Regions from separate parts of the Homo sapiens genome. Here region 2 is linked to region 1. Evidence: promoter capture Hi-C in 16 types of primary human blood cells and fetal thymus (Javierre and others, 2016). All regions are on one chromosome and are shown on one strand. Each heading gives the region's core, a stretch centred on a gene start or on the middle of the fragment in contact. The rest is flanking DNA. Distances are from core to core; before and after follow the strand shown. Region 1 holds the start of RIPOR1 (RHO family interacting cell polarization regulator 1). Region 2 overlaps DUS2 (dihydrouridine synthase 2).

The links. Contacts are between HindIII fragments. The CHiCAGO score rates a contact against its expected background, and 5 or more counts as called.
Region 2: a fragment that was not itself captured here is called in contact with the fragment with the promoter of RIPOR1 in region 1 in 2 of 17 cell types (naive B cells and erythroblasts); the score reaches 5.3 in naive B cells.

What each region holds. Positions count from the first base shown.
Region 1 is chr16:67,523,291-67,531,054 of GRCh38, reverse strand. RIPOR1 (RHO family interacting cell polarization regulator 1) reads right to left here and starts at 2,226. Exons shown (of 22, transcript NM_024519.4): 1 at 2,141-2,226. LOC100505942 (a long non-coding RNA gene) reads left to right here and starts at 2,310. Exons shown (of 2, transcript NR_104656.1): 1 at 2,310-2,738. RefSeq lists silencers at 620-899, 1,900-2,129, 2,160-2,269. The HindIII fragment of the contact is 8,124 bases long and covers 1-5,619 here.
Region 2 is chr16:68,069,772-68,077,118 of GRCh38, reverse strand. DUS2 (dihydrouridine synthase 2) reads right to left here. Exons shown (of 17, transcript NM_017803.5): 11 at 6,899-6,985; 12 at 6,011-6,179; 13 at 2,964-3,085; 14 at 1,615-1,764; 15 at 400-487. Among named protein-coding and RNA genes, the nearest start is that of NFATC3, 12 kb to the left of the region's middle. RefSeq lists an enhancer at 1,688-1,797. The HindIII fragment of the contact is 1,112 bases long and covers 2,798-3,909 here.

The sequences.
Region 1 (7,764 bases), core at 977-3,476:
CTGCCACCATCCCCCGAGTCCCATAGGAACTAGGATGTCTAACTGTTGGTACAAATGACCATCATAATGTCCATCTGAGTGACCGCTTCGGGAGATGGGCGGGCAAGATTGCCCTTGCTGGGTGAGAGCAGGTAGGGAAAGAGCTGAACCCCTTGAGCTAAGGCAGAAGGGCCACCTCAACTGGTGGGGGACTGGCTGATAAGAACCAGGGGACTCTCTGGGCTCATGTCAGCCCTATAGTCTGTTCCCAGGATGGGAAATAACCCAGATCCAAGGTTCCAAAGGTTATGGGGCTTGCAGCACAGCCAGGTCAGGATGGCCGTGAGTGGAGGAGCCCTGACCTGTCCGCATGGCCCCAGATCTTGCAGCCCCGCTATACTTCCTACACACCAAGACTGGCACACCCGGGTGCGGCGGAATATCCCACCACCTGGGCTGCCCATCTCAGCACTGTGCCAGGCCAGCTGCCTCTCTGGGAGTCCCCGGGTCTAGCCCCGCCCCACCCCGGGGCCGCCCCGACCGAGGTAAACAGAGGCTAAAAATAACCTGGGCAAGGGGCGGCTGCAAGGGAGAAGGGGGTCCCTTCTGAGCCTGTCCTTGTCTCCATGGCAACTGCCCCCAAACCCGGCGGCTGACGTCATCTCGCAGCTGCCCAAGCGTATAGGAGGGAGGGGGAGCGGCACAGCCCCGGACCCCCCACCCCGGAACCGGGCGGAGGCTGTCGGGTGGCCTCACTTCCTGCCGGCCCCCTCCCTGGTCAGCTGGTTACATTCCCTGGCCGCGCGCTGGGAGCCAGGCGGCCTCCCCCGGGCCGGGCCTGGCCAGGGCTGAGTCCGAGCGGCGACGCAGAGGGGCCGCCGTGACTCACCCGCGCCCTCCCCGCCCGCTTCTCTCAAGCGGGACCCAGCCCAGAGTCCTGAGTCCTCCCCTCACCCGCACCCAAACCCAGACCCCTGGGGCGGCTCACCTTGCTCCTCTCTCCCGCCGCAGTCACAGGACCCAAGCCGGAGAGGGCGGTGGAAGAAGGAGCTATGCCAGTCCTCCTTGTCCCGCTGGAGTATTTTGTACCTCAGCCCCCAATTATCATTCCTCTCCTCCCTCCAATACCACGGAGGTGGGTGTCGCAGGGGCAAGGACTCAGATCTAATCCTCGCTTCTCCCAAACCAGCTGTGTGACCTTGAGAATACTACTAACCTCTCTGGGCCTGTTTCTGCATCTGCCAGATGGTCATAACCCTCCTCAGATGCTGTGCGTTGGCCGAATGCGGCAGGCCCAGGGCGCGGCCCCGCAGACTGCAGCCAGGGCACAAGTATTGTTACACGAGGCTGCGCACAGTAGGTGCTGGGGCGGCCAGCCTGGACACACGTTAGAACTGGCTGGGGAGGGTCTGTAGGGGAGGCCGGACTCAGGGCTCACCCTGGAGAGGAGGACAAAGGGTGCTGAATCTGGACTGAATCCGACCTCTAGCCCTGGTGAGCAGCCCCTTGCCCAAACCAGTTCTGCAGAGAGCCCAGGCCCGGCTGTTGCAGGAACCTTGCGCCAACCTCCATTTCCAGGGAAAAGCTCCGTTCCCCGACAAGGACGATCCTCTCCGGCTTCGGCTACGCCAGGTTTGGGCGGAGAGCCCGGCTCCAGCCCAGGCTCGGTCACCTCGGGGCCGGCCACAAAGCCGCTTAGGCCGGCCCCTAGAGCTAGGAGGATTAGCTCAGCTCCTAGGCCGGCCCGCACCCTTCGTCGCCCCCTCCCCATTTCCAGCCCAGCCTCCCCTGCGGCGAAGGCAGCAAGGGCTCCCAGGGAGCGCGCGTGCCAGGGCCCAGGCTGGCGCCTTGAGCCCGCTCTCTGGCCTGGCCCATCCCAGCGCCCCGGGGCACCGGCCGCCAGGGCCTTGCCGTGGGAGGAAGGCAGCAGCGCCAGGCTCTGCAGGCCCGGAGGCGGCGGCTTTTGTGGGAGAAGCTGCGTTCTCCACGCCCGGGGGGAGGGGAGGAAAGACAAGGCGCGGCCGGGGTCCGGGAGATGGGGTGAGGCGGGACAGAGCCGCAGATCCCGGACCCACCGGGCGGCGCCGGCGGGGGGGCACCAGAACCTCCGCGCCTGCTCCCCGCCCGGCCTGCAGCCCCGGAAACGGCGCGGGACACTCACATGGCTGCGCTGGGCTGCGCGGACCTCGCGCTGTCCTTGCGCTCGGAGGTGCCCGGCCTGGTCGCGCCGCAGCTGCCGCTGTCGCCGCCGCAGGCGCCGGCCCCTCCCTCCGCCCGCCGCCCCGCCGCCCCTCCCCTGGCCCGCCGGGCCCCACCCCCTGCGCTCCCGCGGCTCCCGCACCCCTAGAGGCGCCCACGGCTCGCTCCGCCCTCTCGGATAACGGGGCAGGCCGGTGGCCCACGCAGCCCACCAGCTTGCAGGGAGGGCAGACCCTGGGGGATGTGAGGGAGGCTTTCTCACGCAGACCCTAAAACGGTGAGCGCCAGGGAGCCCCGCCTGCTTGTCCCCTCCCCAGATCCCTCGGGCTCTGGAGACCTTGCGGGCCCCCTGTCCGTGACCACCTGAAACAGGTCCTGGAGCTGCTACTGCTGGCTTAGGCTGGTTGGTGGAAAGGATCCAGGGCTGTTGTGAAGGCCTTGGGGAGTCCAGAAGCCGCCTGGCACCTTCTGGGTCCAGACGCTGCCCTTCAGCCCTGCCATTTCAGCCAGCCTCAGCGTCGCTGTAGAGGCAGGCCGCCCTTTCTGCCACTGTCTGGCTGGTAAGTCCAGGCTCATAGCCGGGTCATGCATTCCCCACTCATTGGGTACTGGTTTTCGGGCAGTCTTGGGGTGGGGACGCTGGCAGGGTCCGGGTACAGGGCCATGTGTTGGGCAACCCAGTCCTTTCCAAAGCCGGGGCTAGAATGCTGGCCCTCCACACAGTCGGTAAAGGTGGGGCTGAGAGTCGACCCCATGTTGGGGTCAAAGGGCCAGTTCCACTCCCCCGCTCCTCCCATCAATCAGACACCCCTGGCCCTTCCAACCTGGACACCCCTGAGGCTTCTCCAGGCCTTGCACTCCCGCAGCCCTCATGTATGTCAGACCTACCCAGGAATGGTTTCAGGGACAGTAAGAGGTCCCTGAATATCTGTACCCCGCCCCCACCAGTCCTGAGGGCTGTTTTTTTGTGTGTTTTGCTTGTTTGCTTGGTTTTGTTTGGTCGGGTTTTTTTTTTTTTTTTTTGAGACAGAGTGTCACTGTCGCCCAGGCTGGAATGCAGTGCAAGCTCCACCTCCCAGGTTCATGCCATTCTCCTGCCTCAGCCTCCCGAGTAGCTGGGACTACAGGCGCCCACACCACGCCCGGCTAATTTTTTGTATTTTTGGTAGAGATGGGGTTTCACCATGTTAGCCAGGATGGTCTCGATCTCCTGACCTCGTGATCTGCCCGCCTTGGCCTCCCAAAGTGCTGGGATTACAGGCATGAGCCACCGCGCCCAGCCTGTTTGGTCGGTTTTTTAGAGATGGGCTTTCTTCATGTTGCTCAGACTGGTCTCTAACTGGGCTCAAGCGATCCTCCCACCTTGGCCTCCCAAAGTACTGGGATTACAGGCTTGAGCCACCTCTGCCTCACAGTTCTCCACTCTCCAGCCCCTCCTCTTGGGCTTCCTTTGTAGTGCCCTTTTCTTTCTTTCTTTTTTGTTTTTTTTTGGGGGACGGAGTCTCCCTCTGTTGCCCAGGCTGGAGTATAGTGGCGTGATCTCGGCTCACTGCAACCTCCGCCTTCTAATTTCTATATTTTTGGTAGAGATGTCCCGGCTAATTTTTATATTTTTGGTAGAGATGGGGTTTCACCATGTTGGCCAGGCTGGCCTCCACCTCCTGGCCTCAAGCGATCCACCCACCTTGGCCTCTCAAAGTGCTGGGATTACAGGCATGAGCCACTGGGCCGGTCAGTGCCCTTTTCTCTGAAGTCCTTAAACCTGGGCATGACTTCCAGGGGCTGAGTTCTTCTCTTTATTCACCCTACCCTAAAATATCATCCAGTCTCAGGGCTCCCATCCATTCACTGCTGACCATCCCAAACTTCCCTCTGTGCCCAGAGCCCTCTCCTGTTTCAGAGCCCCTGGCTGCTTTCTGGTTGACTCACCAGTCCTCAGCATTGTCCCCATCCCTACAAAGCACCACTGTCTACCCAGGCATCCACCTGAGCTAGAGACTGGGGTTTTCTGGAGTTCTCAAAGCTGGCACCAATTGGCCTCTGCCCACCCCTAAAGTCACCTCTCAGCCAGGCATCTTCTGAGTACTTTCTCTGCAGACACCCTCTGTTCCAGCCTCCTATTGACTCCTTTCATACTGCTCACCATGGCCAGGCAGCAGTGTGCACACCATGTGTGCTCATGGGCCTGACCCTGCCTGACTGTGTTGTCTCTAAGTAGTGTGCGGGTAGGAACCACAGAAGTCCTTATCATCAAGGTGCCTGGCTCATAGTGGGAGTTCAAGAAATATTTGTTGAATGAGCAAGTAACTGAACGTGTAAATGCATGAGCCCTTGGCATCCCCCTCTCCTGCCCTCACCTTCCTTTAGCTGCCCAGTCCTCTTGCTTCTTTCTCCTTAACATCTTTTGAATTAATTCCCTCCCCCTACCATGCCCACCCACTCCAGAAGATAGTCCATACTATGTGGTAGGGCCTCCAAGGCCCAGGAGATCTGGCCTCAGATGACCTCACCTCCTTATCTTGCACTTATTCTGCGGCCCCTGTGATCTGGCTTCCACTACACTCCCAGCCTGCAGCTCCCTGGATGCAGCCTCCACCCTCTGGCCTCTGCCTTTTTTCCCAGCCTCCCTTCTGCCTAGGATGCTTCTCCCCCTCATCCACTTGGAAAACAGCTCAGATGTCCCTTCCTCCAGGGAACCTGTGTCCTCTGAGCACCCATTACTGCCTATTGTCCTTGTCCATGGCCAGGCCTGTGACCACCAGACCAGGCACAGATGGCGCTGCAGTGATTAAATGGAACACCTGGGAGTTCACCTGGCTCTTCCCCCACATCCAAGGGGCCTCGAGGGAAGGGCAGCATCCCTCCGAGGGTCACAGGGTCCTGGTGGCTTTCAAAGCCTCTCCCTAACAATTGGTGAGCTAAGCACAGGGGAGGACACAGCTTGAAACCCACTTCAAAGAGGAGACACCTGAAGCTCAGGGAAGGCAAGAACTTCCCATAGAAACTGTCACATCGTTGGGAAGGGCAGACTCTGAGCTCCAACTTGGCTCCCTGGGTCGTGGTCAGCTCGGCCCTGTTTGAATCAGGCATCATTTCCTGAGCCCTGTCCTCTGCCTGGGACTCAGCTGGTAGCTGTGGTGTGTGTAGAAAGGAATTATGAGCACTTCTAACCACTGGGAGATCACATTCTCAGAGGGGTGGACTCAGGCCTGAGAAAAATCCCTGGGACAGACAGCAGAGGGTGGTGAGAGCCGCAATGAACCCCCAGTCCTCACACACGGCACTGCTAGTTCCATTTCAGAAGTAATGCAGTTCAAGTCCGAAACCCCAGAAAAACCGCGGCTTCCCTCACCCCACCCTACAGCCCCCGCGGATGACAACTCTCTGCCATGCAACCCCCACCCCCATCCCAGCTTTCTGTGAACAGATAGAATAGAAGCTTGCCCTGGACTGTGCCTGGGGCCACATCATTCATTCATTTGCCAGATATACAGCAAGCATTTGTGGAATGTCGGCTGTGCCCGGGCCACCCTGGGGTGACCAGAGGTGAGATCTCCCTAGTTCCTTCCCACAGGGCTCACAGTCAAAGAGAACAGGTATGTCCAAGTCTCTGCACCTCCCAAGTCCCCAAATGCTGAGGGTGTGTGTGTATGTGAGTGTGTGGGACTGTGTCTGTGTGCACATGTGTGCTAGTTAGGAAGGGCTTTGCAGAGAAGGGGCCCTTAGCGTGGCTCTTTGTTGGGGCTCCCTAGGCAGACAGTGGGTAGGTCCTGGAAGGAGCAGCTGAGGCTGGGGGAGCAAGAGTTTAAGCCACAGGAGAAAGGAGCAGCCTCTTTTGCTGAACCAGAGCAAAAGCTGGAGAATTGCGTGCGGGGCCTTGGGGCCGGCTGGGGAGCAAGGATTTTACCCTTGGGGTGATGGGGAGCCTGGGCTTTAGGCTGGGGGATTTTGTGGTCATATCTGTGCTTTGCAAACGTCACTCAGGCACTGTGTGTGTGTATGAGGGGAGGCAGGAGGCCTCAAGGAGGCTGGTGCAATTTCCAGCCCAGTGGATGGTGGCCTGGGCCAGGGTAGGGGCCGTGGGGATGGAGAGGAGACATTTAAGAGATGTTCAGGAGGCAGAATGCAGAGCTTGGTGACTGAAGGGATGTGGAGTCTGGAGAGAGGGAGACATCCCAGATGAGGCAGGGGCTTTGGGCCTGGGTGATGGGTGGATAGTGGGATAATGGTGTTTTTTAATGAGGTGGGGAGGCCTGAAGGATCTGGTTAAGGGAAAGGTAATATGGTCAGTTTGGGCAGGTGGCATCTGAGGGATCTAGGGACCACCAAGGAGGAAGTGTCCAGAAGGCAGCTGGACAGGCAGGGAGAAGAGAGAGGGGTCTGAGCTGGAGACATCTTCTGGGGGGAACAGTGGTCAACTGGGTCACCAAGAGATCAAGTAAGGAAAGGCCCAAAGCACCACGGCCTGTTGGAGCACTTCAGTGCATGGTGGGGCAAAGGCAGGCTTGGAGGAGGTAGGTATGAGGCTTGCGGGTATACTTGACCCACCACCAGCCTCCACACCCCTCCAGCCCCAGCCTGGACTCTACTTTCCTTTGTGTGTGTCAAAAGACAAGAGCCAGGGATGCTGCTCCACATTCAAGTCCTGGCTTTACCACTGTCATCAGGCTTCTCCTAGAGCCATTTCTCCTTTCTGATGCTTTAAGTGCACCCATCCGTTTAATCGTTAAAATTGCTATTTGAAGAAGTGCCGCATCTCATTAATAATCAACACAATGCAAACACAAACAACAGGAGACACTATTTTTTTTTGTTTGCCTCTGAGATGGGCAGTGATGAACATGATGTGTGAGGGGACACTCAAGAGAGTAGGAATTGGTTTAAATGTTTAAGGGTAGGCTGGGTGTGGTAGTGGCTCACACCCGTAATTTCAGCACTTCGGGAGGCAAGGTGGGAGGATGGCTTCAGCCCAGGAGTTAGAGACCAGACTGGGCAATATAGTAAAACCCAGTCTCTACTAAAAACACAAAAATGAGCACGCCATGGTGGCGCATGCCTGTAATCCCAGCTCAAGAGACTGAGGTGGGAGAATCGCTTGAGCCCAGTAGGTTGAGGCTGCAGTGAGCCGTGATTGTGCCACTGCACTCCAGCCTGGGCAACAGAGCGAGACCCTGTCTCAAAAAAAAAAAAAAGTTTAAGGGTAGTTTTTTCAGAATTTATCAGGATGGCAAGTGCAAACCTCCCTTTCACCAAATTTCAGCAAATTTACCCCAAAGAAATAGCTGTTCATGCAGGAAAACATCTGTGCCAAAAGATGTTGACTACTGTTTTTTTTTTTTTTTTTTTTTTTTTTTTATGGAGTCTTGCTCTGTCACTAGGCTGGAGTGCAGTGGCGCGATCTCGGCTCACTGCAACCTCTGCCTCCCGGGTTCAAGCGATTCTCATGCCTCAGCCTCCCGAGTAGCTGGGGTTACAGGCACGCGCCACCATGCCCGGCTAATTTTTGTATTTTTAGTAGAGACAGGGTTTCACCATGTTGGCCAGGCTGGTCTCGAACTCCTGACCTCAGGTGATCCACCTGCCTCG
Region 2 (7,347 bases), core at 2,104-4,603, 540 kb before region 1:
CCATGTCCAGCTAATTTTTGTATTTTTAGGAAAACGGGGTTTCACCATCTTAGCCAGGCTGGTCTTGAACTCCTGACCTCGTGTTCCACCTGCCTCGGCCTCCCAAAGTTGTGGGATTACAGGCATGAGCCACCGTGCCCGGCTGAGACCACATTTCTAAAAAATAAAAAATAAAAATTAGACTCTGTTTCAAAAAAAAAAAAAAGAGAGATGTCTGGCTGAACTGGACAACAGGCCACTGTAAGAGGGGAGGGCTATCAGCAACTGACCTGGCCACCAGCAGCTTCTCCATGCCTACAGAGGTCAAGGCCAGGCTCCAGCCTGGCAATCTAGAGTTGAGGGTGTAAGCCATGGGAGTGCTGTGACTGGCTGCAGGGCAGGCCACAGCCAGGAACTCACCGTTTCATACACAGGCTGTGCCAACTTCTCCCTCCGGCACCACTCTAGTAGGCACATCTTAGGGGTGATCTGGGCTGGGTATGCTCTCCTGGGGAAAGGAAGGGAAGCAGTTGGGGTCACCCACCATCACCGCTCCCTCCCTCAGCCAGGGCACTACTCAGCTCCTGAAAGGAGCTGCAGAAATGAGAGGAACTGAGACACCGAGCTGCTGCCTTAAGGCTTCTGTACTTGCTCCCCTAGGCTCCCATTCTTGTCCTACCAGCAGCTTGGACCTGGGTTCTCCCTAAAGGGAAGATGAATTTTGGCATGCTCAAGAAATTGTAAGGGAAGGGGGAATGAACTCCCAGTACTCTGAGGTCCAGACTGGAAAAACAATGTTCAACATCCAAGAAGGAAGCTTGCCACTCAAGACAAGATTAGTAGGGAGTGGGTGGAGGTGGGCAATGGAGGTAGCCAGACAATGGTCTCGGGGATCTAGCTCAGCGCCCATCCTGATTCCGCCTGCCAAGTGTCATGATCATCTGCTGCAGCCATGGACACTTGGAATCTGGTTTCAGAGTCAGCCTGTGACAGGGTGACACAGTGACAGGGTGGGAGGGGTCATATTCCAACTTCCCAACTGGAACTCTCCCTGGCATCTGACTGCCCAACAGCTATTCCCCACCACCCTGCTCCCCCTCTCCACACCTCTGCCAGACAAGACTGGCTCCTGTCTGGTCCTGGGGACTGGAGAAAGGCTCAGATCCCAGAGGAGGGCACCATTCAAAGCTGAGTCACAATCTGAGGCGTAAGCAGCTTGAGAGAGCACCACAGAGCTGGTGAGGGGCACTGGGTGTGGGTAGGGGCTGCAGAGCCAAATGAGGGCTAGGGTCCTGCTGTTGTTTGAGGAGCTTCATGCCAGGAGCCAGTTCCTCAGGGCCTTGGAAAAGCACAGACTTTCAGGAACAGGAGACAAGTCCCCCCTGCCCTGAGTTGTGGGAGGCGGTAAATCAGGGAAAAAGTAGAGTTCAGTTATCCTTGGGACAGCCTTTCAGGGACTATCTCCCCTGAAAGCACCTTCTATGGGATGCTGAAAATTTAGAACGAGTTTCCAAACCAACAAGACCTGTGGTCCCTACGTTTGACATTAAGCACATACAGCAGCCAGTGTGCTGGCCCAGTGGGACCCCAAGGGTGCTGGCCCTAGCCCAAGCTGAGGCCAAGCTGGAGACCTACCGGTCAAACTTGACAGCCATCTTAATGACACCAGAGGTATCTTCAGCTGGCTCCCCTGTCTGCTCTGAAGTCTTGGCTGAGAGCCTGGCCTGCTGGGCATCCAGCTCCTGTGTGGTCTCCTCATAGAAGGCACCAAGGCCAAAGGCCTCACTAGGGAGGAAGAAGCAGATCAGAGCAAACACTTTAGCGGAGCCAGCATCCAGGGTACTGCAGGACCCCAGGGCCCCACCACTGAGAAACTCCTCTACCACATACACCAAAACACCACCGGGGCCTGGCCATCAGAATGTGCCCCCTGCCCAGCCCTGGGATTACTGTGGACTGGAAGATGGAAAGTGAATGTGAACCCAAGCGTGGACACTGGAGGGAGGCTGGGCTGGGTGGCAAAGGTTGTAAAGGTCACCCCCACCACCTGCAGCCTCTCTCCTGAGGGGAAGCACACAGATGGTATCCCCAGCCAGCCGTGACTGAGTTAACCAATGCTGATCAAGCACATGGGCCCATGGGAGGAAGAGACAGAGGCCTGACCACTAAGTGGTTCCCCACTTCCCGCCCAGCCACAGGCAGTTATACATGGGTCTCAGCTGACACTGAGGCACCACCCAGAGCTACAGAGTTATGTGGGGTAGGGACTGAACCAATGCCATAAGCCAAGGGTGGGAAGAGGGCTCTGGCAAAGGTTTTTCCCTTCTAGGAAACATCTTGAAGGCTGGAAGACTCAAACGAAGATAGATCCCCAATGGCAAAAGTGGTTCAGAAAGGCATCTATGTAAGAGGGAGGCTACAGATAGCTCACGTGAGAGGGAGAGAGCCTTCCAGGCAGACGACCCATTACAAGCACAGGTGTGGAGTTCTGGAAGCAGACAGGTAGACAGGGAGCTGTGGGGGCAGTGGCTAGGCCAGCTTGTGAAGGGCCTCAACTGTCAACCATCTGAGCTAGAGCTGCACCTGATCTAGAGAATCAACAGGTGGTCTCTCAAACTGCAGGGTGATGGATGTGAGTGCAGGCTCAAGGTAGAGGCTCCATGCTACAGCCCAATTCTCCTGACCACTGGTTCCTGGGGGCCTGGCCTGTGACTATCCCATTTATGGAAAATCCCCTTCCTTTGCATTCCTCTATCCTTCTAGTACCCTAGTTCCCAGAGCTCTGCTGATCCGTCCAGGGATGGGACGTTTCAAAGCTTTCAAAGAATCCCCTCCTGGGAGGCAAAGCTGTACCATCACTCCACTCCTCTACATCTACATCCAGAAGCTGTGTCCCTGGTCCCCTGGTGGAGTCAGCTTAGGGCTCAAAGTCAAACTTGGGCAATGCGTACAAGGACAGATGGACATCTTATTGTGCCTCTTACCAAATTTCCCGGGAAGACTGGGCAGCATGGAGCAACCTTCCCTGGGGCGACTCCAGCTGTTCTCGTAGCATCTGGCACAAGCAGTACTTGGTGTTGGTGTAGTGGTTGTCATACTGCACCGCCTGAGAAAAGAAATGACTTGCCTGATGCCCAGGCAGGCTCTAAGGCCTGGGCTATGCTCTGATGGCAGGGAAAGGAGCTCCAAGAAGGCACCAGAGATGTATGTGTAGCCAAGGCAATGTGACCCCCATAAGAAGAACCACCACTGGCCAGGAGCAGTGGCTCACATCTGTAATCCCAGCACTCTGAGAGGCCAATGCAGGAGGACTGCTTGAGGCTAGGAGTTCAAGAGCAGCCTGGGCAACGTAAGACTCAACTCTACAAAAATTAAAAAAAAGAAAATTATCGGCTGGGCACGGTGGCTCACGCCTGTAATCACAGCACCTTGGGAGGCCAAGGCGGGCGGATCACCTGAGGTCAGGAGTTCAAGACCAGCCTGACCAACATGGTGAAGCCCCGTCTCTACTAAAAATACAAAATTAGCTGGGCGTGGTGGCGGGTGCCTGTAATCCCAGCTACTCGGGAGGCTGAGGCAAGAGAATCGCTTGAACCCTGGAGGCGAAGGTTGCGGTGAGCCAAGATCGTGCCACTGCACTCCAGCCTGGGCGACAACAGCAAAACTCTGTCTCAAAAAAAAAAAAAAAAAGAAAAAGAAAATTAGCCAGGCATGTTGGCACACACCTGTAGCCATAGCTACTAGGGAGGCTAAGGCAAGAGGATTGCTTGCACCCAGGAGTTGTGGCTGTAGTGAGCTATGATCATGCCACTGCACTCCAGCCTGGGCAACAGACTGAGACCCTATCTAAAATTAAAAATAAAAATAAAAATAAATTAAAAAGCCACTTCGACCTTGGTCATCTACTCTTCCAGCTAGTGGTACAAAGCTTGAGGGTCACAGCCAAGGACCACGGTCAGAAACACATTCTCCTGGACAGCCTGACTGAGGTCTCGAAGTGCGGGAGCCCCTTCCTGCTTCAGCCACCACAGAGGACCTACTGCCAAGTATCTTCCAGGGAAGGGAGGGGAAACACACCAAATTCTGGCATGGCAGGTCCAGTGCCAGGAAAGGGGTGAGATTCTTCTATTCCTTCTAACCAGAATGGGCACCTTCCCTTCCCACATCTTGAATAGCCTCTAACTTCCCCCTACGTGGGTAAAACACAGCATCATTTAGTTCACATGGGTTACTCATGACTACATTTATCTATACAAGTGTGAGGTGCAACTGTCACCATCACTCCACAGACCGTGAAATGAAGGCTCAGGGAGGCAAGATGACTGACTGCCTGGGACACCCAGTGGAAGTCGGCTGGCTAGAGGTAGGGCAGGAGAGCAGTATTGGGTGAAGGTGGCCTTCCCCAGCCCTCCAGGACACCCTCCCATCCCCCACCCCCTATGCTGCTCTAGTAACTCCACGTGGGCCTATGACTTCAGTGGCTGGGAAAGTGCCACGGCACGCTCAGGACAAAGTGGGAAGTAAGTCGGGGCGCCCCGGCTGGTGGCAAGTCCTTGACTCAGCTTGTCTGGGAAGAAGGCACCTGGCTGGACCAGAAGCAGCCCTGCCTATGCTTGAAAGCCGCTCCCTTTCTCTGTGATAGCACACCCTCTTGAGGAGCTGCCAAGAGATGGCTCAGCAGGAATGATAATATCACCTTTCACCCAGTGAGCAAGCTCAGCACTGTTCAGCACGTCTTCTTGGCCAGACTTGCCAGCTGGCCAAAAAGCTGGATAGCTGACCTGGGCTGGGGCAAGCCCTCCCTTGCCATGGAGCTATCCCAGACCATTGGAGAGCTGGTGGTCACCAACTTGCCCAGCAGGACACCAGAACCAGGGAGTGAGGGCTGCAGCATTGAACAGGAAATAGGACAAAGGCTGCCCAGCTCTGGACGCAGACCTCAGGGCATCTTACCATCCTAGCTTGCACAGCCATGGAAACACTCACATACCATGGCAGCCACAGGCACTCCTAGGCAGGTATGAACCCTAGGACTGAAGAGGAGGGTGGAACTCTGCTCTGGGCAAAGACTGCACCCTCTGTTCAGACCCAATTCACTGAAGAATTTGAGGACCACTCACTGTCTCTCCCTGCAGACATGTGCAGCTGATCAGAGTCCCACAGAGTTCCAGGGTTGTGCCAAAGAGATAAGGCAAGTGAACTCTTCATTTTCTTTTATAGGGATATGCCCTTGGCACTACCATCAACCTCTCAATGAGAAGAAACTGGTTTAGAAAAGGCCATTCCCAGCCTGGGCAACATAGGGAGACCTCATCTCTATTAAAAAAATAAAAAATTAGCTGAGTGTTGTGGCACATGCCTGTAGTCCCAACTACTTGGGAGGCTGAAGCAGGAGGATCACTTGAGCCCAGGAGGTCAAGACTGCAGTGAGTCATGATTATGCCACTATGCTCACACCTGGGCAACAGAGCAAGACCCCATCTCAAAAAAAAAAAAAAAAAGCTATTCCCTAAGTAGAGGGTTATGCTTAAAGCATTCTGGAATTAGCAAGAGAAAAGTTTTAGAAATTATTTCGACTGATGAGTCAAATCAGGTGAGAAATTTCTCAATTGCTCCTCTTGGCTGTGGCTGCTCCTGAGCCAACCTATAGGCACATATGCCTTTGATGATGCAGAACCCACAGTCCACGTGCATATGCCTCTGTATGTGCAGCGTGTGAGAAAAAGAAAGATATATATCATGTGTTCGGGGTTCCAACAGCATCCTGGATCTAGAAGGTTCTTGCTATGACCTGCAAACCTCTGGAAGCTTTAGGAGATGGTAGGGGTATGCCCCCCAGCATCCTCTCTTAGCATTGCAGCTGGGGAGACCGAATAAAGCAGTGAGCTAGTGCAGCTACACTACATGAGCTAAAAAGAAAAGGAGAGGAACAGCAAGCACAGCTGGCAGCTGGGGGCTCACACAAAGTGCTCTCTGCAGGAGTGTGGTAGACAGTGAGAAATGCTTGTTTTGAAAAAGTACAGAGACGTACGTATCTGATGTATTTCTGCATGACCTCCTCCAGGGGCCGCAGACCCTCCTTGAGGAAGATAGATGGGTTCCACATGGCTGCTCGGGCCACCATCACGGAAGAGGCTGCCGTGGCTTGTCGAAAGTCCTCTATGTCCGAATACTGTTGGATGTGGTCATGAGATCCTCCGCTAAAAAGCAACCAGAGGGTTAGGGGTGTCCCCATCACGGAACCTATCAGCATTTTCAGAAAAAGTCAGCTCTCAGATCTGCCACTGATTAACAATGTGAATTTGGCCAAGTCCCTTCAGCTATCAGAGCTTCAGTAAAGTGGATATTAGAATCCATATCCCATTATGAAGTTAGGAGCACTAACTGAGATAATACATGTAGAGTGCCTGGCACTTAATAGGTAATCCAGGAAATTTACTTTCCTTGCCCCTAATCTAAAACAGTGGCTACAGCCAGCCCACATCTGGAGACATGGGTCCATAACTGGGCTACTGGGGCTACAGGAAAACCCCCAAGCTGAATGGGCCACTTATATGTTCACTGAGGGCTAAGTCAAAACCCTGGCGAGAGGAACAGACACCCTAGTGATGACAAGAGGAAGGAAGGAGGCCCAGTTAGGTCATACTTTCCCCTCCCTGCAGCCTGCTGCTCCAAGGACCCCCTGCTCTGTCTCTGTACATTTCATCAGGAGTCAGTCGGCAGCCTCAGTCCTGAGACAGGCATGCAGAGGGGAGGGTCTCAGGTGGCAGCAGAAGGAACAGGTCTGGGGTCTTGTGGAAAGCCCTGCCCTTTTCAAGCCACCCCTAAAACTTTTCACTCTAGGGAAGGCTGGGCCTGGCTACCACCCAGCCCTTAGCTCTGTGGGACACAGAGTACATGATGAAGACAGGAGGCTTACTTGGCTATGACAGGAATGGAGAGGGTATCAGCAATGGCTTTGATGACTTCACAGCTGACAGGATGCTGAGGTCGCTCCTCCCGCTTCCTTGGAGATAGAAAGATGGGGCTGAGGGCTAAGCACCAAAAGCCACGACACCACTCACACAGGGTTACCTCAGCCAAACCTTACTGTCCTCCCCACTGAACCTCAGGAAGGTCAGGTGGCCATATGGCAATCAAGGACAGGTGGCAGGAAATGGCTCTCCCTGCCCTCTGGAGAACTGTGAGGGGCAGGGGCAGCACAGATCCATGCTGAGACGGCAAGTCCAGCTCTTGGAGGCCTGCAGGGGAGGCCTGGCTGCAGGGGGGCATGGTGGGTGGCCTGGCTCCCAAGGTCATGTTGCTTTTCCCTAGCTTCCTTTTGCCTCTGCCAGAGATGAGGGACAGGGCCATAAGAGTGCTGCCCCT